Regions from separate parts of the Homo sapiens genome. Here regions 1, 2, 4 and 5 are each linked to region 3. The links are contacts of gene promoters, found by promoter capture Hi-C in blood cells and fetal thymus (Javierre and others, 2016). All regions are on one chromosome and are shown on one strand. Each heading gives the region's core, a stretch centred on a gene start or on the middle of the fragment in contact. The rest is flanking DNA. Distances are from core to core; before and after follow the strand shown. Region 1 overlaps CASC3 (CASC3 exon junction complex subunit). Region 2 overlaps WIPF2 (WAS/WASL interacting protein family member 2). Region 3 holds the start of CSF3 (colony stimulating factor 3). Region 4 overlaps RAPGEFL1 (Rap guanine nucleotide exchange factor like 1). Region 5 overlaps WIPF2 (WAS/WASL interacting protein family member 2).

Region 1 (5,372 bases), core at 1,783-4,282, 140 kb after region 3:
TCGAGCCCGGGAGTTTGAGGCTGCAGCAAGCCATGATCACACCACTACACTCTACCCTGAGTGATACAGTGAGACCCCATCTGTTAAAAAAATAAAAGGGGGTTGGCCGGGCGCGGTGGCTCACGCCTGTAATCCCAGCACTTTGGGAGGCCGAGGCGGGTGGATCACGAGGTCAGGAGATCGAGACCATCCTGGCTAACATGGTGAAACCCCGTCTCTACTAAAAATACAAAAAATTAGCCAGGTTTGGTGGCGGGTGCGTGTAGTCCCAGCTACTCGGGAGGCTGAGGCAGGAGAATGGCGTGAACCTGGGAGGCAGAGTTTGCAGTGAGCTGAGATTGCACCACTACATTCCAGCCTGGACAACAGCGAGACTCCGTCTCAAATAAATAAATAAATAAATAAATAAATTAATTAATTAATTAATTAAAAGGGGCTGGGCGTGGTGCCTCATGCCTGTAATCCCAGCACCTCAGGAGGCCGAGGTGGGCGGCTTGCCTGAGCTCAGGACTTTGAGACCAGCCTGGGCAACATGGTGAAACCTTATCTCTACTAAAAGTACGAAAATAGCTGGGAGTGGTGGCATACGCCTGTAGTCCCTGCTACTCAGGAGGCTGAGGCATAAGAATTGCTTGAACCCAGGAGGTGGAGGTTGCAGTGAGCTGAGATCGCGCCATTGCACTCCAGCCTGGGCGACAGAGCAAGACTCTGTCTCCAAAATAAATAAATAATAAATAAAATATAAAGGACACCTATCCCTGTTGCAGTAAGAATTCCAAGTATAACTTTTGACTCACCCAAAACTTAACTACTAAGTCAACTGGAAGCCATACCAATAACATAAACAGTCAGTGAATATGTATTTTATATTTTATGTGTATTATGTACTGTACTCTTACAATGAAGCTAGAGAAAAGAAAATGTTATTAAGAAATCATTCACTATTAAGGAAACATACTATTCAGTGGAAGTGGATCATCATAAAGGTCTTCATCATCTTTGCATTGAGTAGACTTCAGAAGAGGAGGGGTTGATCTTGCTGCCTTGGGTGACAGAGGCAGTGGAAGGAGAGGCAGGCATACTTGCTGCAACTTCTATTGAAAAAAAATTTGCGTAGAAGTGGACCTGAGTAGTTCAAACCCCTTGTTCCAGCGTCAACTATACCCAGATGCTGAGCAGGGAAAAATGAGGAAGAGGGATTAATTGGCTTGTCTGGGCCAATCAGGCTGACTCAGCTCTATTTGAAGAGATGGCAGAAACTTAGAGTTTGAGAGTTTCTCAATCAGGAATTCAGGAATCTCATGTTGAGCCTCTTTGACCAGATTATTGGGGCCAGCCTGGGTCTTGAGTGACAGGGCAGTCTGGTTCAGTTCAAGTATCAGACCCAGTAGGTGAGTGAGAGACCAGTGTACATACATCTACCAGGTTTCAGATGTAACCCACCAATGAAGACTAGACCACCTTTCCTTGAACCCATTTCTCTGTGTTCTCGTAGGCCTCCCTAGCCATAGCTCTGCCTCCTTAGGTCCAAATCTGGGGAGGACAAGGAGAGGAGAGTAACCCTATTCTAAAGCCAGTTCCCTTATCATGAGCCTTAGCTGCTGCCTTTTCCTACCTAGAACTAGCCACACGTCCATTTCCTGGCCCTTTCTAATGGCCTAATGATCCTTTGTGTGTAGACCCAGCACTTTCTGTGTCATGAACAGTGTTACCCAATCTTGATGTGGTAAAAGAGGGAAGAAGATAGTAAAAAGAGAGAGAGAGCACTTGGACTAATTTTTTTCATTTCTGAAATGTGATGGTTGTACAAGTTGTCCTTTAAGGTTTTTTAGGTCAAATTTTTGTAATTATGTGATTCTGGATATGTTCTGGCTGCAGGAATTTTCTGCTGCAGAAAACCAGTACTCATAGGCATTAAAAAAAGCTACCATTTTCCAGCTTGAGGATAAGTGCATTGGGAAATCATGGAGTCATTATCAAGAGTTTGCACATCTGGTTGGGCGCAGTGGCTCATGCCTGTAATCCTAGCACTTTGGGAGGCTGAGGCAGGAGGTTCGCTTGAGCTCAGAAGTTTCAGACCAGCCTGGGTAATGTGGTGAAACTCTGTCTCTACAAAAAATACAAAAATTAGTTGGGCATAGTGGTGTACATCTGTAGTCCCAGCTACTTGTGGGGGCTGAGGTGGGAGGATTACTTGAGCCCAGGAAGTCAAGGCTATAGTCAGTTGAGATCACACCACTGCACTCCAGCCTGGGCGACAGAGTGAGACCCTGTCTCAAAAAAGAGTTGCATGTCTACTCATTCAGTTCTCATTATCTATAGACTAAAATATACATCTCCCCCCTTATGTACTACTATTTTTGAATATATGTAAATTAATAAAATGTAAACTTAAAGTGTTATTGAATGTATAACAGTTTGTTGTTTTTTGTTTGTTTTTGAGACAGTCTCTGTTGTCCAGGTTGGAGTGCAGTGGTGCGATCTCGGTTCACTGCAACCTCTGCCTCCCAGGTTAAAGTGATTCTCCCGCCTCAGCCTCCTGAGTAGCTGGGACTACAGGCACGCACGCATCAGTTCATTGTGTGTTTTTTTTTTTTTTTTTTTGAGACAGGATCTCTCTCTGTTGCTAAGACTGGAGCGCAGTGGCACAATTATGGCTCACTGCAACCTCTACCTCCTGGGCTGAAATGATCTCACACCTCAGCCTCCCAAGTTGCTGGGACTATAGGCGCACACCACCATTCCTGGCGAATTTTTTTTTTTTTTTTTTTTTTTTTGACAGGGTCTCACTCTTTTGCCCAGACTAGTATCAGTGGTGCAATCTTGGCTCACTGCAACCTCCACCTCCTGGGTTTAAGCAATTCTCTTGCCTCAGCCTCCCAAATAGCTGGGATTACAAATTCATGCCACCATGTCTGGCTGATTTTTGTATTTTTAGTAGAGACAGGGTTTCACCATGTTGGCCAGGCTGGTCTCAAACTCCGGACCTCAAGTGATCCACCTACCTCGGCCTCCCAGAGTGTTGGGATTACAGGCGTGAACCACTACATCCAGCCTAGCAGTTGTTTGTCATTGTATGTTTTCTCAGTGAATATCTCATGGGGATCCATGAAAATTTTTAGATCCTAAAAAGGGGTCCGCATAATCAAAAAGGTTGGGAATTTCTGCTCTAAGCCATTTTGAGATGGGAGAGTTCACAACTTACGTCAAAGTATAGTTATTAGGCACTGCATGTTTAAGAGACAATTCATGGGCCAGGTACAGTGTTCATGCCTGTAATCCCAGCCCTTTGGGAGGCCAAGGGAGGAGGATTGCTTGAGCTCAGCAGTTTGAGAACTGCCTAGGCAACATAGCGAGACCTCGTCTCTACTAAAAATAAAAAAAAATCAGCCAGGTGTGGTGGCATGTGCCTGTAGTCGCAGCTACTTGGGAGGCTGAGGTGGGAGGATCACTTGAGCCCAGGAGATTGAGATTGCAGTAAGCCATGATTGTGCCACTGCACTCCTGGGCAACAGAGCAAGACCCTGTCTCAAAACAGAAAAAAAAAAAAAGATAATTCATGGAGAGAGAGATTATCAAGGAAGATTAAGCTCCTCTTATATGTTAGGTATCGTATAGTAAGTCTCCCTTCCATTCTTATCCTCTGGGCCCATTAGAGGCTGCCGCTGTTTTTTTGTTTTTTTGTTTTGCTTTTTCGAGATGGAGTTTTGCTTTTGTCACCCAGGCTGGAGTGCAGTGGCACAAACTTGGCTCACTGCAACCTCCGCCTCCCGGCTAATTTTTGTATTTTTAGTAGAGACAGAGTTTCACCATGTTGGCCAGGCTGGTCTCGAACTCCTGACCTCAAGTGATACGCCTGCCTCGGCCTCCCAAAGTGCTGGGATTACAGGTGTAAGCCACTGCGCCCAGCCTGCCACTTTTAATAATTCTTGCATATGTTCCAGGAATACCTATGTGGATATATATGTATGTATGTGTGTATTTTTTTTAATGTGATATTTTTAAAATAGTGTCTTTTTTTTATTATTACTATTTTTTGCGACAGAGCCTTGCTCTGTCGCCCAGGCTGAAGTGCAGTGGCGCAGTCTCTGCTCACTGCAAGCTCTGCCTCCCTGGTTCAAACGATTTTCCTGCCTCAGCCTCCCGAGCAGCTGGGATTACAGGTGCCTACCACCAAGTGCGGCTAATTCTTATATTTCTAGTAGAGATGGGGTTTTGCCATGCTGGCCAGGTTGGTCTCACACTCCTGACCGCAGGTGATCTGCCTGCATTGGCCTCCCAAAATGTGATTACAGGCGTGAGCCACTGTGCCAGGCCAAAATAGGATCTTTATTTTCTAGAAATATGGGTAAGAATATTGATTTGTTTGCTTTTCAGTTCTATGTTGTACTAAAAATTTATTGATAAATGTATTCCTAAAGAGTAGAAAATTGAAATGCAGCCAGGCACGGTGGCTCACGCCTATAAACCCAGCACTTTGGGCGGCCAAGGCAGGCAGATCACGAAATCAGGAGTTCAAGACCAGCCTGGCCAACATGGTGAAACCTGGTCTCTACTAAACATACAAAAATTAGCCAGGCGCGGTAGTGGGCGCCTATAATCCCAGCTATTTAGGAGGCTGAGGCAGGAGAATTGCTTGACCCCTGGAGGCAGAGGTTACAGTGAGCTGAGATTGTGCCACTGTATTCCAGCCTGGGTGACAGAGACTTTGTTTTGGGGTTGGGGGCAGGGGTGGGAATTAAAATGCACCGTTCAGATCTTATATGCATCGCTGACAGGGAAACTTTTTTCAGGGTGAAGAAGGTGAATACAGTGAAGAGGAAAACTCCAAAGTGGAGCTGAAATCAGAAGCTAATGATGCTGTTAATTCTTCAACAAAAGAAGAGAAGGGAGAAGAAAAGCCTGACACCAAAAGCACTGTGACTGGAGAGAGGCAAAGTGGGGACGGACAGGTTAGTACATTCCACAGTCCTCCATTTTAGAGGCTGGAATAGAGATTCTTGAGGCTTGGAAGAGTAAGGATCCCTTTATCTGTCCTCTAGGAGAGCACAGAGCCTGTGGAGAACAAAGTGGGTAAAAAGGGCCCTAAGCATTTGGATGATGATGAAGATCGGAAGAATCCAGCATACATACCTCGGAAAGGGCTCTTCTTTGAGCATGATCTTCGAGGGCAAACTCAGGAGGAGGAAGTCAGGTAAAAGCCACTTGCTGCTGCTGCTGTCTAACATGTATTTTACACATGTAGGCCAGGTACTTCGATTTGCCTGTATTTCATTTATTACAGCATTTTAAGATAAGTATTATGATTATCCTTATCGTACAAATGAGGAAAGTAGGCTTAGAATATTTGGTAACTCTTGGTGAGGCAGCTA
Region 2 (5,119 bases), core at 1,739-4,238, 220 kb after region 3:
CCTTTTCAGTCTGGAAGCTTATTTCAATCTATCCTGGGAAATTTTCTTGTATTATTTCTTGTATTGATAATGTATTCTCACTTTGATAATTATTTATCTCCTCTCTCTTTCTGGAAACGCTGTTACTCAGATGGTGAAACTCCTAGGTTGGTACTCTAATTTTTTTTTCCTATTCAATTTTTCCTTTTTTTTTTTTTTTTTGAGACAGAGTCTCACTTTGTCATCCTGGCTGGCATGCAGTGGTGCTATCTCGGGTCACCGCAATCTCCGCCTCCTGGGTTCAAGGGATTCCCCTGCCTCAGCCTCCTAAGTAGCTAGGATTACAGGCGTGCGCCACAACGCCCGCCTGATTTTTGTATTTTTAGTAGAGACAGAGTCTTACCATGTTGGCCAGGCTGGTCTCAAACTCCTGACCTCAAATGATCCGCCTGTGTTGGCCTCCCAAAGTGCTTCGGATAACAGGTGTGAGCTACCACGCCCAACCCTAATTTTTTTTTCCTTCATTCAATTTTTGTGAGATTTCCTTAGCTGTTCTTCCGACTCTCTGTTGTCGCTTAATTCCTGTTATCAGTTTGTTTAATTTCCAAGGGCTTTTTGTTTTTTTTTTAGACAGAGTCTTACTCTGTCGCCCAGGCTGGAGTGCAGTGGCGTGATCTCGGCTCACTGCAACCTCGGCCTCCCGGGTTCGAATGATTTTCCTGCCTCAGCCTCATAAGTAGCTGGGATTACAGGCACACACCACCACGCCCAGCTAATTTTTATATTTTTAGTAAAGATGGGGTTTCACCCTGTTGGTCACGGTGGTCTCAAACTCCTAACCCTGTCTCTACTAAAATACCAAAAAAAAAAAAAAAAAAAATTAGCCAGGTGTGGTGACGTGCGCCTGTAATCCCAGCTACTCAGGAGGCTGAGGTAGGAGAATTGCTTGAACCCGGGAGGCGGAGGTTGCAGTGAGTCAAGATGGTGCCACTGCACTCCAGCCTGGCAACAGAGGGAGACTCCGTCTCAAAAGAAAAAAAAAAAGCTCTTGACCTTGTGATCCACCCGCCTTGGCCTCCCAACGTGCTGGGATTACAGACGTGAGCCACCACCCCTGTCTCCAAGGGCTCTTTTTATTATCTGAATTTTACATGTATTTTTGGACATTGTCAGGAATTCTGTTTTGTTACTTTGATTCTTATCTTTCGTGTTAGAGATTTTCTTCAGTTGTTTGATAATTCTTAGCTGCTTATTCAATTTTTATTATTTATTTGTTTATTTATTTGAGATGGAGTCTGGCTCTGTTGCCCAGGCTGGAGTACAATGGCACGATCTTGGCTCACTGCAACATCTGCCTCCCCAGTTCAAGCAATTCTCCTGTCTCAGCCTCCCAAATAGCTGGGATTACAGGCACCCGCCATCATGCCCGGCTAATTTTTGTAGTTTTGTAGAGACAGGGTTTTACCATGTTGGCCAGGCTGGTCTTGAACTCCTGACCTCAGGTGATCTGCCTGCCTCGGCCTCCTAAAGTGTTGGGATTACAGGTGTGAGCCACTGCACCTGCCCTTATTTATTTATTTATTATTATTTTTTTGAGACAGAATCTCACTCTGTCGTCCAGGCTGGAGTGCAGTGGCACAATCTCGGCTCACTGCAAACCTCCGCCTCCCGGGTTCAAGCGATTCTCCTGCCTCAGCCTCCCGAGTAGCTGGGATTATAGGCGCTTGCCATCAGTGTGGCTAATTTTTGTATTTTTAGTAGAGATGGGGTTTCACCACCTTGGTCAGGCTGGTCTGAAACTCCTGACCTCATGATCCGCCCGCCTTGGCCTCCCAAAGTGCTGGGATTACAGACGTGAGCCACCGTGCCCGGCCATTTATTTTTTAAGAGATGGGGTTTTGCTGTGGGGCTCAGGCTGGATTCAAACTCCTGGGCTTAAGTTATCCTCCTACCTCCAAGTAGCTGGGACTACAGGCTCATGCCACTGTGTCTGGCTTCTGTTTATTTTATTTTATTTATTTATTTATTTATTTATTTATTTATTTATTTATTTGAGACGGAGTCTCGCTCTGTCGCCCAGGCTGGAATGCAGTGGTGCGATCTCGGCTCACTGCAAGCTCCGCCTCCCAGGTTCACGCCATTCTCCTGCCTCAGCCTCCCAAGTAGCTGGGACCACAGGCGCCCGCCACCACGCCCGGCTAATTTTTTGTATTTTTAGTAGAGACGGGGTTTCACTGTGTTAGCCAGGATGGTCTCGATCTCCTGACCTCGTGATCCGCCCCCTTCAGCCTCCCAAAGTGCTGGGATTACAGGCGTGATCCACTGCGCCCAGCCTTGGCTTCTGTTTATTTTTAAGAATGTGACACTAAGAAGCTCATCAAGTGGTGGACCCTACTATAGGGTATTGGGATTACAGGCACCCTGGCAGGCTGGTAAAAGGACTCCTCCAGTCCCCTGCCTAGAGAGTATAAGCCAGTGGCAGGTGTTTGAGTGTAAGTCTGGCTGCCAATGTTTTTGGAGCCAAGTGAGAGAAAGGAGCTGGGGAGGTAGGAGAGGTCTCACCGTTGACTCATTAGGCTTTTCACTTGATACCCTTATTTCCGTCACTGCCCTTAGCTGTGACTAGTTCCTTTGGACTCTTTGGTTCAGCTTTTCTTTTTTTTTTTTTTTTTTTTTGAGACGGAGTCTCACTCTGTCATCTCTAGGCTGGAGTGCAGTGGCGCTATCTTGGCCCACTGCAACCTCTGCCACCCGGCTTCAAAGGATTCTCCTGCCTCAGCCTCCCAAGTAGCTGGGATTACAAGTGCCTGCCACCGTGCCCGGCTAATGTTTGTATTTTTAATAGAGGTGGGGTTTTACCATCTTGGCCAGGCTGGTCTTGAACTCCTGACCTCAGGTGTTCCACCCACCTTGGCCTCCCAAAGTGCTGGGATTACAGGCATGAGCCACCGAGCCTGGCCTGGTTTAACTTTTCTAATTTGCCTGGCAGCATGGGGAGGGATGGAGGAATCCATTTGTTATACAGACTTTTCTTTTTTTTTTTAAGATGGAGTCTTGCTCTGTTGCCCGGGCTGGAGTGCAGTGGTGCAATCTCAGCTCACTGCAACCTCCACCTCCCAGGTTCAAGCAATTCTGCTGCCTCAGCCTCCCAAGTCGCTGGCAACTACAGGCATGAGCCACCACAATCGGCTAATTTTTTTGTATGTTTAGTAGAGACGGGGTTTCACCAGGTTGACCAGGCTGGTCTCGAACCCTTGAGCTCAAGTAATCCACCTGCCTCGGCCTCCCAAACTTCTGGGATTACAGGTGTGAGCCACCGTGCCAGTCCCAGACTTTCAACCAGTCCTCCTGTTTAGCCCCTTCTACACTATCACCCCATCTTCCCGAGGTACCAGGTGCCTCTAATTTCTGAGACGTTTTGATTCAGAAGTTCATCTGTGGTGGGAATCTGCTTGCTTCTTCCCACTGCAGTGTTTTGTTTTTTTTTTTTACTTTTGTGAAGTTATTTATCACTAGTGCATTTGCTTTTTACCTTCCAAAACTTTGTTGACATCTCTCTCTCTGCTGTCTCCTTTCCCAGTTTTTTTGCTTGTTGTTTGGTTTATGTCTTTATAAAAAAAAATCCTGGCCAGGCACGGTATCTCACGCCTGTAATCCCGGCATTTTGGGAGGCTGAGGCAGGCAGATCACGAGGTCAGGAGATGGAGACCATCCTGGCTAACACAGTGAAACCCCGTCTCTACTAAAAATACAAAAAAATTAGCTGGGCGTGGTGGCAGGCGCCTGTAGTACCAGCTACTCGGGAGGCTGAGGCAGGAGAATGACATGAACCCGAGAGGTGGAGCTTGCAGTGAGCCGAGATAGCGCCACTGCACTCCAGCCTGGGCAACAGAATGAGACTCCGTCTCAAAAAAAAAAAAAAAAAATCCTTTTGCTGTAATTTTAATGGTGTTTTATGATGGAACATTGATTAATGCATGCAATATATTATGTTTAACATGTTATTCAACATATTCATCAGCTTTTCCTTGCCAATATCCATTCAGACACCACAGTGTCTTTACAGTTGATTACTAATACTCCTTTAGCATAGTGTTTTCTAGACTTCCCTAACACCAAGAATCACTTAAAGTGCTTGTTGGATATACAGATTACCAGATCATTCTCCTGGAAAACTTCTGATTTTAGTTGGTTTAGATTAGCGCCCAGGGATCTTTTTTTAAAGTGTGTTTGTTTTTAAACAAATGCCCTAAATATGTCTTATCTTCAGGCAAGTTTGGAAACCCTGCTTTAGAAGGATTCTTTTTAAACCATTAATGCCATCTTACATCTCCATGGCAAACTCCTTAGCCTTCCCCTAATACTGCTTTTGTATTCAGACTCTGTTTTAGCCTGTCTAGCTTTGGTCTGGATTTCTGAATTAGCATGTGTGTCTTTCCTCTGATTAACTCCCCTCTTTAGTATTAAATGTTGGCTGATGGTAATAACTTTGGGCTTGTGTGACTTCATTTTTTTTAGTCAGCGTCTCTAAACCCGCTCCTGGGATGTACAGGGGAGGAAATACTAGTTATGAACATTGAGCTGCTCTGCACCAATTTACTAAGTCCAGGAATCAGTGTTTTTGGTGAAATGGAAAATTGACTCAGGCTTTGAAAACAGATGTCCTAATCTGCCTTGGGTTTATGCAGCGTCATTTTTGGAGATGTTGAAGCACTGTGATTTGAAGTTTGTTTTTAACTTTACAATCAAAAGGACACAATTCTCCCTTTTGTATTATAGATTCCTACGCCTAGAAAAGAAAAAGGGTTGTATCTTTTGCTGCCAGTCTGTAAAGTATCTGGAAATGTGTTTGCAGCTGCTCCTTGGTTGTGAATTGCTTAGAGGTTAAGAGCCAAATAGTACTTGTCTTAGCAGTGTTGCAGAGGCTAACTGTGGTACCCTAGTTCTCAGTTCTTGGAAATCTTGTGGCTGTTATTAACTAAAATACAGCTGAGGAGGCCATGTTGGCTCTGACATAGAGTTGATTTGCATTCTAAGATGAGCAGCTCTATAGAAATAGCTGTAATACAATTTTACAACTTCCATTGAAACAGTTTTTTGGAAGGCTATGGCAGGAGGATTGTTTGAGGTCAGGAGTTTG
Region 3 (4,794 bases), core at 1,256-3,755:
GTACCACAGCCCTCTAGGCTGGGGGACAGACTGAGACCCTGTTTCCCCTCCGCAAAAAAATTGACAAAAGTGTAATAAGAGGTGCCTGATATGGCTAGGCGCAGTGGCTCATGCCTGTAATCCCAGCACTTTGGGAAGCCGAGGCGGGCGGGTCACCTAAGGTCAGGAGTGTGAGACCAGCCTGGCCAACATGGAGAAAGCCCATCTCTTCTAAAAATACAAAATTAGCCGGCTGTGGGGGCAGTGGTGGAGCATGCCTGTAATCCCAGCTACTCAGGAGGCTGAGGCAGGAGAATCACTTGAACCCAGGAGGCGGCGGTTGCAGTGAGCCGAGATCGTGCCATTGCACTCCACCCACTCCAGCCTGGGCAACAAGAGCCAAACTCTGTCTTAAAAAAAAAAAAAAAAAGTGCCTGACATATAAGAGGTGTGCAATGCAATAGTTGCCAGGCAACATGTTTAAGAATGTGGAGCTCCTGCCTTCCATGGTCCTGTTAAAAACCCACCCTCAAGGCCAGGTGCAGTGGCTCATGCCTATAATCCCAGCACTTTGGGAGGCCGAGGCGGGTGGATCACCTGAGGTCAGGAGTTCGAGACCAGCCTGACCACCAACATGGTGAAATCCCACCTCTACTAAAAATACAAAATTAGATGAGCATGGTGGTGCATGCCTGTAATCCCACCTACTTGGGAGGCTGAGGCAGGAAAATCACTAGAACCAGGGAGGCGGAGGTTGTAGTGAGCCGAGATCGTGCCATTGCACTCCAGCCTGAGCAATGAGCGAAACTCCATCTCAAAAAAACAACAACAAAAACCCACCCTCTACTCCCAGGGAGCTGGGTACAGAGCTGGGCCACATCAGTGCAAGGTGCTGAGCCACAGAGCTAAGGCGGAGCTGCAGGACCGCGGACCAGATAACAGTGTGTGAGATCAGTGTGTGAGATCAGACGTCCCTGCCATTGGTGACCACCAGGGGGCCCCCAAGCACCAGAGATGGCCCCATCCAGTCACCACATCCACTTCTCATCCAGAGATGTCTGTTTCTTGGCACGCTGGGGTAAATTAGGACAGAAGGTGACAGTCTTGGGTGTGGTCAGTCAGACTGCCCCAGGCAGGCCTTGTGGCCTGTAGAAAACGTTCAGGCCTAGGCCGGGCACGGTGGCTCACGCCTGTAATCCCAGCACTTTGGGAGGCCGAGGCGGGTGGATCACGAGGTCAGGAGATCGTGACCATCCTGGCTAACACGGTGAAACCCCGTCTCTACTAAAAATACAAAAAATTGGCCGGGCATGGTGGCGGGCACCTGTAGTTCCAGCTACTCGGGAGGCTGAGGCAGGAGAATGGCGTGAACCCGAGAGGCAGAGTTTGCAGTGAGCCGAGATCGCGCCACTGCACTCCAGCCTGGGCGACAGAGCAAGACTCCATCTGGAAAAGAAAAAGAAAACGTTCAGGTCTGAGCCAGAGGCCCAGGCTGTAATTCTGTCACTTACCATGACCTTGGGCAAGGCACTTCCTTCCCTGGCCCAGTTCACGGGGTTGGAATCGACTCCAAGGTCCCTTCCAGCATTAACGCTGCATGGTTCTAAGATGAGAAGATGGGGCAGTTTCCCCTCTCTCACCCCAGCCCGTGTCCACTTCAAGGTGAATGACCAGGGAAGTCACGTGTCCCAATCCCGCAGTTCCAAAGCCCTTGGGGACCCTACTGTCAGGGTCGTGCACGAGGAGGTGAAGGTCAGGTGAGCCAATCGCCTCGAAGGGTCTTGCCTCATTCGGGACAGACATCCGGTTTCCTCTGGCTCTACCGGGATTCTAGGGGCTTTAGCCGAATGAGTCATGGGGGGCGGGGGGGTTTCTGGGGGAGTTCCCAGCTAATCAACTTGGGACAGGACAGCCTGGAACTTTCGATGGTGCCTATCCAAGTGTGGGGTGGGCACAGCAGCCAAGACCCAATGTCCTTATCTCAGGTAGGGGCTCAGGAGGTCTCCCAGACAGGCAGCCTCCGGAGAGTTTGGGGGTAGGAATGGGAGCAACCAGCTTCTTTTTTTCTCTCTTAGAATTTGGGGGCTTGGGGGACAGGCTTGAGAATCCCAAAGGAGAGGGGCAAAGGACACTGCCCCCGCAAGTCTGCCAGAGCAGAGAGGGAGACCCCGACTCAGCTGCCACTTCCCCACAGGCTGCTGCCGCTTCCAGGCGTCTATCAGCGGCTCAGCCTTTGTTCAGCTGTTCTGTTCAAACACTCTGGGGCCATTCAGGCCTGGGTGGGGCAGCGGGAGGAAGGGAGTTTGAGGGGGGCAAGGCGACGTCAAAGGAGGATCAGAGATTCCACAATTTCACAAAACTTTCGCAAACAGCTTTTTGTTCCAACCCCCCTGCATTGTCTTGGACACCAAATTTGCATAAATCCTGGGAAGTTATTACTAAGCCTTAGTCGTGGCCCCAGGTAATTTCCTCCCAGGCCTCCATGGGGTTATGTATAAAGGCCCCCCTAGAGCTGGGCCCCAAAACAGCCCGGAGCCTGCAGCCCAGCCCCACCCAGACCCATGGCTGGACCTGCCACCCAGAGCCCCATGAAGCTGATGGGTGAGTGTCTTGGCCCAGGATGGGAGAGCCGCCTGCCCTGGCATGGGAGGGAGGCTGGTGTGACAGAGGGGCTGGGGATCCCCGTTCTGGGAATGGGGATTAAAGGCACCCAGTGTCCCCGAGAGGGCCTCAGGTGGTAGGGAACAGCATGTCTCCTGAGCCCGCTCTGTCCCCAGCCCTGCAGCTGCTGCTGTGGCACAGTGCACTCTGGACAGTGCAGGAAGCCACCCCCCTGGGCCCTGCCAGCTCCCTGCCCCAGAGCTTCCTGCTCAAGTGCTTAGAGCAAGTGAGGAAGATCCAGGGCGATGGCGCAGCGCTCCAGGAGAAGCTGGTGAGTGAGGTGGGTGAGAGGGCTGTGGAGGGAAGCCCGGTGGGGAGAGCTAAGGGGGATGGAACTGCAGGGCCAACATCCTCTGGAAGGGACGTGGGAGAATATTAGGAGCAGTGGAGCTGGGGAAGGCTGGGAAGGGACTTGGGGAGGAGGACCTTGGTGGGGACAGTGCTCGGGAGGGCTGGCTGGGATGGGAGTGGAGGCATTACATTCAGGAGAAAGGGCAAGGGCCCCTGTGAGATCAGAGAGTGGGGGTGCAGGGCAGAGAGGAACTGAACAGCCTGGCAGGACATGGAGGGAGGGGAAAGACCAGAGAGTCGGGGAGGACCCGGGAAGGAGCGGCGACCCGGCCATGGCGAGTCTCACTCAGCATCCTTCCATCCCCAGTGTGCCACCTACAAGCTGTGCCACCCCGAGGAGCTGGTGCTGCTCGGACACTCTCTGGGCATCCCCTGGGCTCCCCTGAGCAGCTGCCCCAGCCAGGCCCTGCAGCTGGTGAGTGTCAGGAAAGGATAAGGCTAATGAGGAGGGGGAAGGAGAGGAGGAACACCCATGGGCTCCCCCATGTCTCCAGGTTCCAAGCTGGGGGCCTGACGTATCTCAGGCAGCACCCCCTAACTCTTCCGCTCTGTCTCACAGGCAGGCTGCTTGAGCCAACTCCATAGCGGCCTTTTCCTCTACCAGGGGCTCCTGCAGGCCCTGGAAGGGATCTCCCCCGAGTTGGGTCCCACCTTGGACACACTGCAGCTGGACGTCGCCGACTTTGCCACCACCATCTGGCAGCAGGTGAGCCTTGTTGGGCAGGGTGGCCAAGGTCGTGCTGGCATTCTGGGCACCACAGCCAGGCCTGTGTATGGGCCCTGTCCATGCTGTCACCCCCAGCATTTCCTCATTTGTAATAACGCCCACTCAGAAGGGCCCAACCACTGATCACAGCTTTCCCCCACAGATGGAAGAACTGGGAATGGCCCCTGCCCTGCAGCCCACCCAGGGTGCCATGCCGGCCTTCGCCTCTGCTTTCCAGCGCCGGGCAGGAGGGGTCCTGGTTGCCTCCCATCTGCAGAGCTTCCTGGAGGTGTCGTACCGCGTTCTACGCCACCTTGCCCAGCCCTGAGCCAAGCCCTCCCCATCCCATGTATTTATCTCTATTTAATATTTATGTCTATTTAAGCCTCATATTTAAAGACAGGGAAGAGCAGAACGGAGCCCCAGGCCTCTGTGTCCTTCCCTGCATTTCTGAGTTTCATTCTCCTGCCTGTAGCAGTGAGAAAAAGCTCCTGTCCTCCCATCCCCTGGACTGGGAGGTAGATAGGTAAATACCAAGTATTTATTACTATGACTGCTCCCCAGCCCTGGCTCTGCAATGGGCACTGGGATGAGCCGCTGTGAGCCCCTGGTCCTGAGGGTCCCCACCTGGGACCCTTGAGAGTATCAGGTCTCCCACGTGGGAGACAAGAAATCCCTGTTTAATATTTAAACAGCAGTGTTCCCCATCTGGGTCCTTGCACCCCTCACTCTGGCCTCAGCCGACTGCACAGCGGCCCCTGCATCCCCTTGGCTGTGAGGCCCCTGGACAAGCAGAGGTGGCCAGAGCTGGGAGGCATGGCCCTGGGGTCCCACGAATTTGCTGGGGAATCTCGTTTTTCTTCTTAAGACTTTTGGGACATGGTTTGACTCCCGAACATCACCGACGCGTCTCCTGTTTTTCTGGGTGGCCTCGGGACACCTGCCCTGCCCCCACGAGGGTCAGGACTGTGACTCTTTTTAGGGCCAGGCAGGTGCCTGGACATTTGCCTTGCTGGACGGGGACTGGGGATGTGGGAGGGAGCAGACAGGAGGAATCATGTCAGGCCTGTGTGTGAAAGGAAGCTCCACTGTCACCC
Region 4 (5,161 bases), core at 790-3,289, 180 kb after region 3:
GAGAACTCCCTGTCCAGATGTGTATTTCCATACACTTGCTGGTTCCCCATTCTCTCCTTGCCTCTGCAGAGGCCTTCCTGCCCAACATCTGTCTCAGTCCACAGCCTGATCTTCTGCCCGGTGTGTGTGTAGAGGAAGAAGGGAAGCTGGGAACCTGACTGCCTCTCCCTCTTTACCCACTAGGCCTGGACATGGAGGCATCCCCCAATCACCTGCAGACCAAGGCCTATGTGCGCCAGTTTCAGGTCATCGACAACCAGAACCTCCTCTTCGAGCTCTCCTACAAGCTGGAGGCAAACAGTCAGTGAGAGTGGAGGCTCCAGTCAGACCCGCCAGATCCTTGGGCACCTGGCACTCAAGCACTTTGCACGATGTCTCAACCAACATCTGACATCTTTCCCGTGGAGCAACTTCCTGCTCCACGGGAAAGAGGTCGATGGATTTACCCCTGGACCCATAAGTCTGTTCATCCTGCTGAAGTCCCCTCCCCATTGCTCCTTCAAGCCAAAACTACACTTTGCTGGTTCCTGTCCCCTCTGAGAAAGGGGATAGAAAGCTCCTTCCTCTATGTCCTCCCATCGAGATCTGTTCTGGGGATGGAGCTTCCAACTTCCTCTTGCAGCAGGAAAGAATGCTGCTCACCCTTCTGTCTTGCAGAGTGGGATTGTGGGAGGGATTGGCAGCCTTCTTCTCCACCACCTGTCCAGCTTCTTCCTGGTCAGGGCTGGGACCCCCAGGAATATTATGTTGCCGTGTGTGTGTGTGTGTGTGTGTGTGTGTGTGTGTGTGTGTGTGTGTGTGTGTGTGTGTCTTCTTTTAGGGAGCAGGAGTGCATCTGGTAATTGAGGGTGGATGTTGTGTGTGCTGGGGAGGGGTCCTTCTGTTTGGTGCTACCCTTGTCTACTCTGCCCCTGGATGGTGCGGGGTGCTTTCTCCACCCCCACACTCCCTGCTCAGCTCCTCGTGCTGCCCTGCATGCCCAGGCTTGTGAGCCAAGCTGCTTTTTGGGGCAGGGAGTAGCAGCAGGTGGGAGGGGTTACCCATCAGCCCTTGCAAGTCCCCCACTCAGGCCTCTGGAAGGTCCAGGGATGGGCTCTGATGAGAGGGTAAAAGATGCTCAGGGAAACACAGGCCTCAGCTGCCTAGAGGACCCTCCCCCTGCCTTGCAGTGGGCTCGGGTAGAGCAGTATCAGGAGCTAGGGTTGTCTGCTGCCCACACTCCTGCTTTTTGGGATATCTAACTGCTAAGGAGGGAGTTGACATCCCCCTTCTGGCTCATGTGTCTGACACCAACAACATGGTCTCTGTCCCTCTCTCTTTGACTCTCCCTTTGTCCTCCCCATAGAGCTGGGGTGGGGTGGATCCCTATACCTGGGGCAGGCAGCCCCAAAGTGGGGGAGGGGGATGGCAGAGACTGTAAAGGCGCCACTGGACTCTGGCAAGGCCTTTATTACCTTTACTCCCCTCCCTCTCCCATCACCAGCCTCAAGGCCTGAGGGGTGCAGGGGCTCCTGGCAGCTACTGGGTGAGGTTTCCTGGCACAGACTCACCCTTCTTTCTGGCACCACCTCTTTCCCTTTTGAAGAGACAGCAACAGCCGTAGCAAAAGCAGCTGCTGCTCCTGCTATGAGGGTGTATATATTTTTTACCCAAAGCTCTGGAATTGTACATTTATTTTTTAAAACTCAAAGAGGGAAAGAGCCTTGTATCATATGTGAACATTGTATCATAGGTAATGTTGTACAGACCCTTTTATACAGTGATCTGTCTTGTTCCTGCAGCAAAAATCCTCTATGGACATAGGAGGTGCTGTGTCCCATGCCCTCTTGCCCTGACAGTGTCCCATGGGCCCCCTTCTGCTCCCTGCCCCCTCCCTGCTACTGCTGATGCACTCTCCTCTCCCTGCAGCCCCTGGCTTCCCAGCCTTCCTCCTGACCCCTTCCAACAGCCTTGGAACTCCAGCTGCCACCACCCTCTGGGTCGGACACTGGGACCCACTGGCCCAGTCTTGGCTGCTGCTTACCCCTAGCCTTGATGCCTGCCCAGGGACCCCCAGCCCCCTCCCGTTGCCCTGCAGCTTTAACAGAGTGAACCATGTGTATTGTACAGGCGCGGTTGTCATTGCAGAAACCGCTGGGTGGAGAAGAAGCCGATAAAGTCTATGAATCAACCTGCCTGTTGTTCTCCATTCTGTTTTCTTTGAGGCTGTGGAAGTGCTGAGGGAGGGGAGAGGGGATGGCCGCCCAGTGCTGTCAGGAGCAGGGCTGTTCTGGAGTGACTTTGAAAATGTGGGTGGCGGGGTACAGTGGCTCATGCTTGTAATCCCAGCACTTTGGGAGGCCGAGGCGGGCAGATCACCTGAGGGCGGGAGTTCGAGACCAGCCTGGCCAACATGGTGAAACCCTGTCTCTACTAAAAATACAAAAATTAGCCAGGTGTGGTGGTGCATGCCTGTAATCCCAGCTACTTGGGAGGCTGAGTCAGGAGAGTAGCTTGAACTCAGGAGGCGGAGGTTGCAAGGCGCAGTGGCTCTCCAGCCTGGGCAACAGAGCAAGACTCTGCCAAAAAAGAAAATGTGGATGAGAGGAAAAGATGCCAACCTCACAAGACATGTCACATAATGCCTGGAACTCAGAAGAGGGGATGGGATGTTTTCGTTCATACATGTTCCAGGTGGCATAAATATGAGATCACATTTAATTCTAATGCTAAGGTAGAAGATTGAGGCACAGCAGTCCCAGAATAATTACTAGTGAGGGCACTGGTCCCCTAACCCAGGTCTGTCCCCTGAAGACAGCATGTACTGTTCACACAACCAATATTTACCAGTTCTACTAAGTTTTGTTTTGTTTTGTTTTTTTTGAGACGGAGTCTTGCTCTGTTGCCCAGGCTGGAGTGCAGTGGCGTGATGTCTGCTCACTGCAAGCTCTGCCTCCCAGGTTCATGCCATTCTCCTGCCTCAGCCTCCCAAGTAGCTGGGACTACAGGTGCCCACCACCATGCCGGGCTAATTTTTTTTTTAATATTTTTAGTAGAGATGAGGTTTCACTGTGTTAGCCAGGATGGTCTGGATCTCCTGACCTCGTGATCTGCCCACCTCGGCCTCCCAAAGTGCTGGGATTACAGGCTTGAGCCACTGCGCCTGGCCCAATCCTACTAAGATTATAGGGTGCAGAGAGCCTAGCGTTAGGCTTAAATGATAGCCTGAGTTCCAGGAGACATCATACACTCAAATAGCTATACCTGGGCCCTTGATAATCCCCATTCACATCTGTTTCTGCCTCAGTCTTCTGCATCTCAGAAAAATGATCCTCTCATCCACCCAGGTTTTCTCTCTCTGTTGCCCAAGCTGGAGTGCAGTGGCGTAATCTTGGCTCACTGCAACCTCTGCCTCCCAGGTTCAAGTGATCCTCCTGCCTCAGCCTCCTGAGTAGCTGGGATTATAGGCAGAGGCCACCACACCCGGCTAATTTTTGTATTTTTAGTAGAGATGGGGTTTCACCATGTTGGTCAGGTTGGTCTCAAACTCCTGACCTCAAGTGATCCACCCACCTCAGTCTTCCAAAGTGCTGGGATTACAGCTGTGAGCCACTGCCCAGCCACCTACCCAAGTTTTCAAGGCAAAAATACAGGACTCACCATTGGTGCCTCTTTCTCCCACCCTTCATTCATCTCAGCCAGTCCCATCGGCTACAATTCCAGAGCATTTTCTGAGTGATCCACTTCTGTATGACTCCCCTATGACCATACTAGTCCAAACCACCTTCATAGCTTCCCTGCATGACTACTGCAGCCTCCTACCTGGTCTGTCAGCTTCCTCTCTTTGATCCACCCCTACCTGCCACCAGTTTGATTTCCACATGGCAGCCAGGGTGTTCTTTCAGAAACACCAATCACGCTGGGCATGGTGGCTCAAGCCCATAATCCTAGCACTTCGGGAGGCTGAGGCAGGAGGATCGCTTGAGCCCAGGAGTTCAAGACCAGCTTGGGCAACATAGTGAGACCCTGTCTCTACAAAAAATAAAAAATTAACGAGGCTGCAGTGAGCTGCGATAGCACCACTGTACTATAGCCTGAGCAACAGAGTGAGACCCTGTTTAAAAAAAAAAAAAAAAAGAAAGGAGAGCAAGGGAAGGAGGGAGGGAGGGACAGAGGGAGGGAGAGAGGGAGGGAGGAAGGAAAGAAGGAAGGAAGGAAGGAAGGAAAAAAACCCAGTGTCTTTCAACACATGAATGGACAAATGCATTGGGGCATATTCTTATGGTGGAATACTATATAGCAAGAAAAAAGAACAAATTATTAATACCCACGTGAATGAATCTCACAGACTTAATGTTGAATAAAGGAAGCCAGACACAGGCTGGGTATGTTGGCTCACACCTCTAATCCCAGCACTTTGGGGGCCTGAAGTAGGAGTGAGAGGTGAAGCTGGCTGGGCTTCTGGGTCAGGTGGGGACTTGGAGAAGTTTTCTGTCTAGCTAAAGGATTGTAAATGCACCAATCAGTGCTCTGTGTCTAGCTAATCAGGTAGGGGACTTGGAGAACTTTTCTGTCTAGCTAAAGGATTGTAAAAGCACCAATCAGCGCTGTGTGTCTAGCTAAAGGTTTGTAAATGCACCAATCAGTGCTCTGTGTCTAGCTAAAGGTTTGTAAATGCAGCAATCAGTGCTCTGTGTCTAGCTAAAGGTTTGTAAATGCACCAATCAGCACTCTGTAAAAACGAACCAATCAGCACTCTGTAAAACGGACTAATCAGCATTCTGTAAAATGGACCAATCAGCGCTCTGTAAAATGGACCAATCAGCAGGATGTGGGTGGGGCCAGGCCACCCGAGCCAGTAGCGGCAACCCACTGGGGTCCCCTTCCACGCTGTGGGAGCTTTGTTCTTTTGCTCTTTGCAATAAATCTTGCTGCTGCTCACTCTTTTGGTCCGCACTATATGAGCTGTAGCACTTACCACAAAGGTCTGCAGCTTCACTCTTGAAGCCAGCGAGACTACGAACCCACTGGGAGGAACAAACAACTCCAGAAGCGCCACCTTTAAGAGCTGTAACACTCACTGCTGAAGGTCTGTGGCTTCATTCCTGAAGTCAGGGAGAGGACGAACCCACCAGAAGGAAGAAACTGGACACATCTGAACACCTGAAGGAACAAACTCCGG
Region 5 (5,571 bases), core at 1,276-3,775, 250 kb after region 3:
GTTAGTTTGATTTAATCATTCCACAACGTATACATATAACGAGACATTGTACCCCATAAATACATAAAATTATTACTTGTCAAAAATAAAGTAACATTTAAAATAAATAACAGTGTATCCTGAGCCTGAAACCGTATTAAAACCCAGAACTAGGCCGGACGTGGTGGCTCACGCCTGTAATCCCATCACTTTGGGAAGCCGAGGTGGGCAGATCACCTGAGGTTGGGATTTCGAGACCAGCCTGTCCAACGTGGTGAAACCCCATCTCTACTAAAAATACAAAAATCAGCCAGGTGTGGTGGCGCACACCTGTAATCCCAGCTACTCGGGAGGCTGAGGCAGGAGAATCACTTGAACCCAGAGGTTGCAGTGAGCTGAGATTGCACCATTGCACTCCAGCCTAGGCAACAACAGCGAAACTTCGTCTCAAAAAAAAAAAAAAAAAAAAAAAAAAAGAAAAACAAAAAACCCAGAATTATTCAATTCCTTTCCCTGCTGCCATGCAGGTTGCACTAAGGAGCCGAGTGAAGTAGGGATACTGACCAATATCTGTCCAGCTCTGTTGACCCTGTGTTGTCTATGTATTTGTAGAGAACCTAGCTGGTAAGCCAGCCCTGCAAATCCCCAGTTCTCGAGCTGCTGCCCCAAGGCCTCCAGTATCTGCCGCCAGCGGGCGTCCTCAGGATGATACAGACAGCAGCCGGGCCTCACTCCCAGAACTGCCCCGGATGCAGAGACCCTCTTTACCGGACCTCTCTCGGCCTAATACCACCAGCAGTACGGGCATGAAGCACAGCTCCTCTGCCCCTCCCCCACCACCCCCAGGGCGGCGTGCCAACGCACCCCCCACACCTCTGCCTATGCACAGCAGCAAAGCCCCCGCCTACAACAGAGAGAAACCCTTGCCACCGACGCCTGGACAAAGGCTTCACCCTGGTCGAGAGGGACCTCCTGCTCCACCCCCAGTCAAACCACCTCCTTCCCCTGTGAATATCAGAACAGGACCAAGTGGCCAGTCTCTGGCTCCTCCTCCTCCGCCTTACCGCCAGCCTCCTGGGGTCCCCAATGGACCCTCTAGCCCCACTAATGAGTCAGCCCCTGAGCTGCCACAGAGACACAATTCTTTGCATAGGAAGACACCAGGGCCTGTCAGAGGCCTAGCACCTCCTCCACCCACCTCGGCCTCCCCATCTTTACTGAGTAATAGGCCACCTCCCCCAGCCCGAGACCCTCCCAGTCGGGGAGCAGGTAAGTGCTTGGAAGCACCTTTTTCCCTATCATGCTGTGAGTTGATTTTATCTTTCCCCAGAGCACTCCTTGAAGACAGTAATTCGTTTATTCACTCAGTGGGTTTATTGAGTACCTTTTTATGTGTCAGGTCTGTTGGTAGGGAAATAGCAATAAATAGAAAAGACAAAAAAATTTGACAGTCAAACTAGTAAAATATATAAATACATAGTATGCAGTATGCTTTAGAGAATTACAAAGCAGAGGAGAGGAATAAGATATACTGGGGCGGAGGTCGGGATGATGATATCTTTAATTGGAGGAGTGGGGAGAGAGTCAGGACAGTCCTTACTGATACGGTGAAAATTTGACAAAGACCTTAAGAAAGTGACGAGTAAGCTTAGTAGTTATCTAGGAGAACAGCTGTTGCAGGCAGTGGGAACAACAAATGCAGAGGCCATAAGGCAGAAGTATTCTTGAAACATTTTGGGGACAGCAAGGGGGCCATTGTGGCAAGACTACAAAGAGTGAGGGGAGGGAAGAGTGGTAGGACTTGGAGGTTGGAAAGCTGGAGCTGCAGGGGAGAGCGCACTGCAGGATTTTGCAAAGACCTTGGATTTAACTGTGTGAGATGGGAAGCCACTGGAGGGTTTTAAACAGAGAAGTAGTATGATTTGATTCACCTTTTAAAAAGATCATTAACTCCTATGTTGAGAACAGACCGCAGGAGGACAAAGGTGACAAAAGGAGACCAGTTACTGGGCTGTTGCAGTAAACGGCCAGATGGTTAGGACTACTGTGAATTTGTGGGAAGATAGGTGTTCAGTTTGAGACAAGTTTGAGATGCCTGTTAGGTAATCAAGAAGAGACAATGAATTGGTAATTGGCTATCAGACTCCAAAGTTGAGGGGAGAGGTTTCGGCTAGAGAGATACATTTGAATGGTGTTGAAAACCACATGCTGGATGAAGTCACCTAAGGAGTGAATATAGATAAGAAGAGGCCTAGGAGGCTGAGGCAGGAGAATCGCTTGAACTCAGGAGGCAGAGGTTGCAGTGAGCCGAGATCACGCCACTGCACTCCAGCCTGGGCGACAGAGTGACAGTCCATCTCAAAAAAAAAAAAAAAAAAAATGAGGGCTGAGCCCTCGCCCTCCTACATTAGAGGCAAAAGAGATGAAGAATACCCAGCAGAGGAAACAGAAAAGCTTCTAGTGAGGATGGAAGGAGAAAAACCAAGAATGTGATGGAAAAACTCCAAGGTAGAGTAAGTGGTCAGCTGTGCCCAGTGCTGCAGATGGGTCAGGTAAGTTAAAGACCAAGAACTGGCATTGGTCTTAGTATCATGGGACCCTTTTGAGTAGTTTCAGTGGAGTGGTGGAGGGTGAAAGTGAAAGCTTAATTGGAGTGGGTTCAAGAATGCAGGAATAGGAGGAGAGAAATTGGAGATAGCAATATAGAAATCTCTTAAAGAGTTCGCTGTAAAGTCCAGGAGAGAGGGGTGAAGATAAGTGAAGTGATTGTTGGACGAAGATGTGGGGTTGAGAGTTGTTTTTTTCCCATCCCAAGATGGGAGACCTATTTGTATGCTGATGGAATGAGTAGCATGAAACTTAGGAGAGAGGGAAAAAATTGAATCAGAAGAGAGGGAACAGATTGCCTGAATAATGACCTGGAGGAGGCCAGAGAAAAGAGAATGTGATCGATAGATAAAAAGGGTTGGCCTTAGATAGGAACATAGTTCTTCCATAGTAACAAGAGGGGAGGCAGAGCATATAGGCTTAGAAGCAAGTGGGTAGGTGGGTGTAGTGGTAGAAGCATGTGGAAAGTTTATTCTAATTTGCTTCTGTTTTCTCAGTGAAATGGAAAGCAAGAGCATCAGCTGTGATTGAGGCGAGGGAAGGAGAAGGAGAGTTGAGGAGAGAGAAGAGGCATGAAATGGTCATCTGGAGCGTGGGAGTGTGGGTGGACTAGGGAAGTGTGCTCAGATAGGCAACCACGCGAAGGGCCCACTTGAGATTATGGGCCATACATTTCATGTGAGATTAATTAGTCTCATGTGTTCAGTTGTGATTTGCAGGTACAGAAAAAGAGTAGAGCTGTGTTTAACCAGCGTTAGCATGTTTTAGGCATGTGCGACTCTAAGGGAGAGTGGGGCAGGAAGGGAAGGGTGTATGTGAGGGAGTGATTGCAATAATGGAGCCTAAGCTGGGTGAGGAGGGAATTTAGGAACCCTGGAAAAAGAAGAGGTTGTGTAATCTCGTTATAATTAGCATAACTGAAATTTTAGAGTGAGGGAGACCGTGACAGCTCTCTGGGGCCTTATTGGACATGGGAATTTTGGCTCCCATATCGTTGTATCATTAGACTTTGAGACATACCCTCCACAAACAGCTTCTTGGCCTTTATTTATTTATTTGTTTGTTTGTGTTTTGAGACAGAGCCTTGCTCTTTCGCCCAGGCTGGAGTGCAGTGGTGCAATCTCTGCTCATTGCAACCTCTTCCTCCCAGGTTCAAGTGATTGTTGTGTCTCAGCCTCCTGACTAGCTGGAATTACAGGCATGTGCCACCATATCTGGCTAATTTTTGTATTTTTAGTAGAAACGGGTTTTCGCCGTGTTGGCCAGGCTGGTCTCAAACTCCTGACCTCAAGTGAGCCACTGCGCCCAGCCCTTAGCTTTTATTTTAAAGTCAGTTTCTACAGGTATAGAACATTGATTAAGGAGTTATGTCATGGAGTCTGGGCATGATGGCTCACGCCTTAATCCCAGCACTTTGGAAGGTTGAGGCCAGCAGATCATTTAAGCCCAGGAGTTCGAGACCAGCCTGGGCAACATGGCAAAACCCTGTCTCTACAAAAAATAATTTTAAAAAATTAGCCTGGCATGGCGGTGCATGCCTGTAGTCCCAGCTACTTGAGTGGCTGAGGTGGGAAGACCACTTGAGCCTGGGAGGTGGAGGCTGCAGTGAGCTGTATTAGTGCCACTGCACTTCAGCCTGGGCAACACAGCAAGACGTTGTCCCAAAAAAAGGGTAAAGGTTATATCATTAAGTAGCAAGGCATTAAAAGTCCATTAACCTGTGTGCAGCTTCTTTGTTCAGTACATACAGATTTGTACTCTAGCAGCTGGCCATCTAACATAGGGCAGCCAAACAGTGGCCTACTGCATTCCTGATCCCATATCTCCCTAGCTTTAGCCATAATGAGGTAGTGCTAAGGTGGCCCTTGATTCTATAAAGTTCAGGTTTGACTTTTTTTTTAACTTAGGGATTTTACAAAAGACTCTTTGTCTGAGCAAAGCTCATATCTTTCTGACCTCATCCAGGAATAGAAGAAGAGAAAAATGCAATTTCCGTGGGTTGAGCTGAGCACTTTTAAATGTCTGCAGGCTTTCTTGCTTCCCACTTTTCCATTCTTTCTCTGTGGTAGCTAGGACTACAGGAGTGTTGCCACCATGTCTGGCTCATTAAAATTTTTTTTTATTTTTATTTTTTAAGATGAGGTCTGTGTTGCCCAGGCTGGACTCAAACTCTTGGGCTCAAGCCATCCTCCCACCTTGGCCTCCCGAAGCCCTGGGATTACAGATGTGAGCAATTGTACCTGGCTAGAGCAGCAATTCTTAAGAGTGATAAACCAGAAAAAAATTGAGATATTTTAGTCAGAGATCATTTGAGTATTGCCTCGATTTGTTGTGTGACATTGGACAGATCACTGATTCTCTTTTCTCACCGATTCTCTTTTCTCACCTGTAAAATGTACATTTGAAAAGTACAGTGGGGGTCAGGGACACAGGCTCACACTTGTAATCCTAGTGCTTTGGGAGGCTGAGGCAGGAGGATCGCTTGAGACGGAGTTCAAGACCAGCCTGGGCAACATGGTGAAACCCCATTACTACAAAAAATAAAAAAACTAGGCCGGGTGCAGTGGCTCACGCCTGTAATCCTAGCAATTTGGGAGGCTGAGACAGGCAGATCACCTGAGGTCAGGAGTTCAAGACCAGCCTGGCCAACATGGTGAAACCCCATCTCTCTACTAAAATACAAAAATTAGCCAGGCATGATGGCGGGTGCCTGTAATCCCAGCTACTCGAGAGGCTGAGACGGGAGAATCGCTTGAACCCGGGAGATTGTGGTTGCAGTGAGCTAAGATTGCACCACTGCACTCCAGCATGGGTGACTGAGCGAGACTCTGTCTCAAAAAATAAATAAATAAATAAATAAAAATAAATTTAAGAAACCTAGCCAGGCGTGGTAGCGTGTGCCTGTGGTCCCAGCTACTTGGGAGGCTAGGATGGGAGGATCACTTGAGCCCAGGAGGCAGAGGCTGCAGAGAGCTGAGATCACGC

What was found. Contacts are between HindIII fragments. The CHiCAGO score rates a contact against its expected background, and 5 or more counts as called.
Region 1: a fragment that was not itself captured here is called in contact with the fragment with the promoter of CSF3 in region 3 in 8 of 17 cell types (M1 macrophages, M2 macrophages, erythroblasts and 5 more); the score reaches 6.3 in M1 macrophages.
Region 2: a contact is called between a fragment that was not itself captured here and the fragment with the promoter of CSF3 in region 3, in 1 of 17 cell types (naive CD8 T cells). The highest score is 5.7, in naive CD8 T cells.
Region 4: a fragment that was not itself captured here is called in contact with the fragment with the promoter of CSF3 in region 3 in 1 of 17 cell types (neutrophils); the score reaches 5.3 in neutrophils.
Region 5: a fragment that was not itself captured here is called in contact with the fragment with the promoter of CSF3 in region 3 in 1 of 17 cell types (naive B cells); the score reaches 5.4 in naive B cells.

Annotation. Positions count from the first base shown.
Region 1 is chr17:40,156,960-40,162,331 of GRCh38, forward strand. It overlaps CASC3 (CASC3 exon junction complex subunit), which reads left to right. Exons shown (of 14, transcript NM_007359.5): 4 at 4,794-4,952; 5 at 5,043-5,194. It overlaps MIR6866 (microRNA 6866), which reads left to right and starts at 4,974; the gene lies at 4,974-5,042. The HindIII fragment of the contact is 7,918 bases long and covers 1-5,372 here.
Region 2 is chr17:40,237,058-40,242,176 of GRCh38, forward strand. The region is part of intron 1 of WIPF2 (WAS/WASL interacting protein family member 2); the gene reads left to right. Among named protein-coding and RNA genes, the nearest start is that of WIPF2, 20 kb to the left of the region's middle. The HindIII fragment of the contact is 5,946 bases long and covers 16-5,119 here.
Region 3 is chr17:40,012,935-40,017,728 of GRCh38, forward strand. It overlaps CSF3 (colony stimulating factor 3), which reads left to right and starts at 2,506. Exons shown (of 5, transcript NM_172219.3): 1 at 2,506-2,580; 2 at 2,757-2,911; 3 at 3,299-3,406; 4 at 3,551-3,697; 5 at 3,861-4,794. The coding sequence starts at 2,541. The coding sequence ends at 4,025. PSMD3-AS1 (PSMD3 antisense RNA 1) reads right to left here and starts at 1,707. Exons shown (of 3, transcript NR_198981.1): 1 at 1,620-1,707; 2 at 1,304-1,425. RefSeq lists an enhancer at 2,416-2,915. The HindIII fragment of the contact is 16,036 bases long and covers 1-4,794 here.
Region 4 is chr17:40,193,481-40,198,641 of GRCh38, forward strand. It overlaps RAPGEFL1 (Rap guanine nucleotide exchange factor like 1), which reads left to right. Exons shown (of 15, transcript NM_016339.6): 15 at 184-2,170. The coding sequence ends at 308. It overlaps MIR6867 (microRNA 6867), which reads left to right and starts at 117; the gene lies at 117-183. RefSeq lists enhancers at 963-1,463, 1,088-1,137. The HindIII fragment of the contact is 6,356 bases long and covers 1-5,161 here.
Region 5 is chr17:40,263,899-40,269,469 of GRCh38, forward strand. WIPF2 (WAS/WASL interacting protein family member 2) reads left to right here. Exons shown (of 8, transcript NM_133264.5): 5 at 592-1,248. Among named protein-coding and RNA genes, the nearest start is that of CDC6, 21 kb to the right of the region's middle. The HindIII fragment of the contact is 189 bases long and covers 2,432-2,620 here.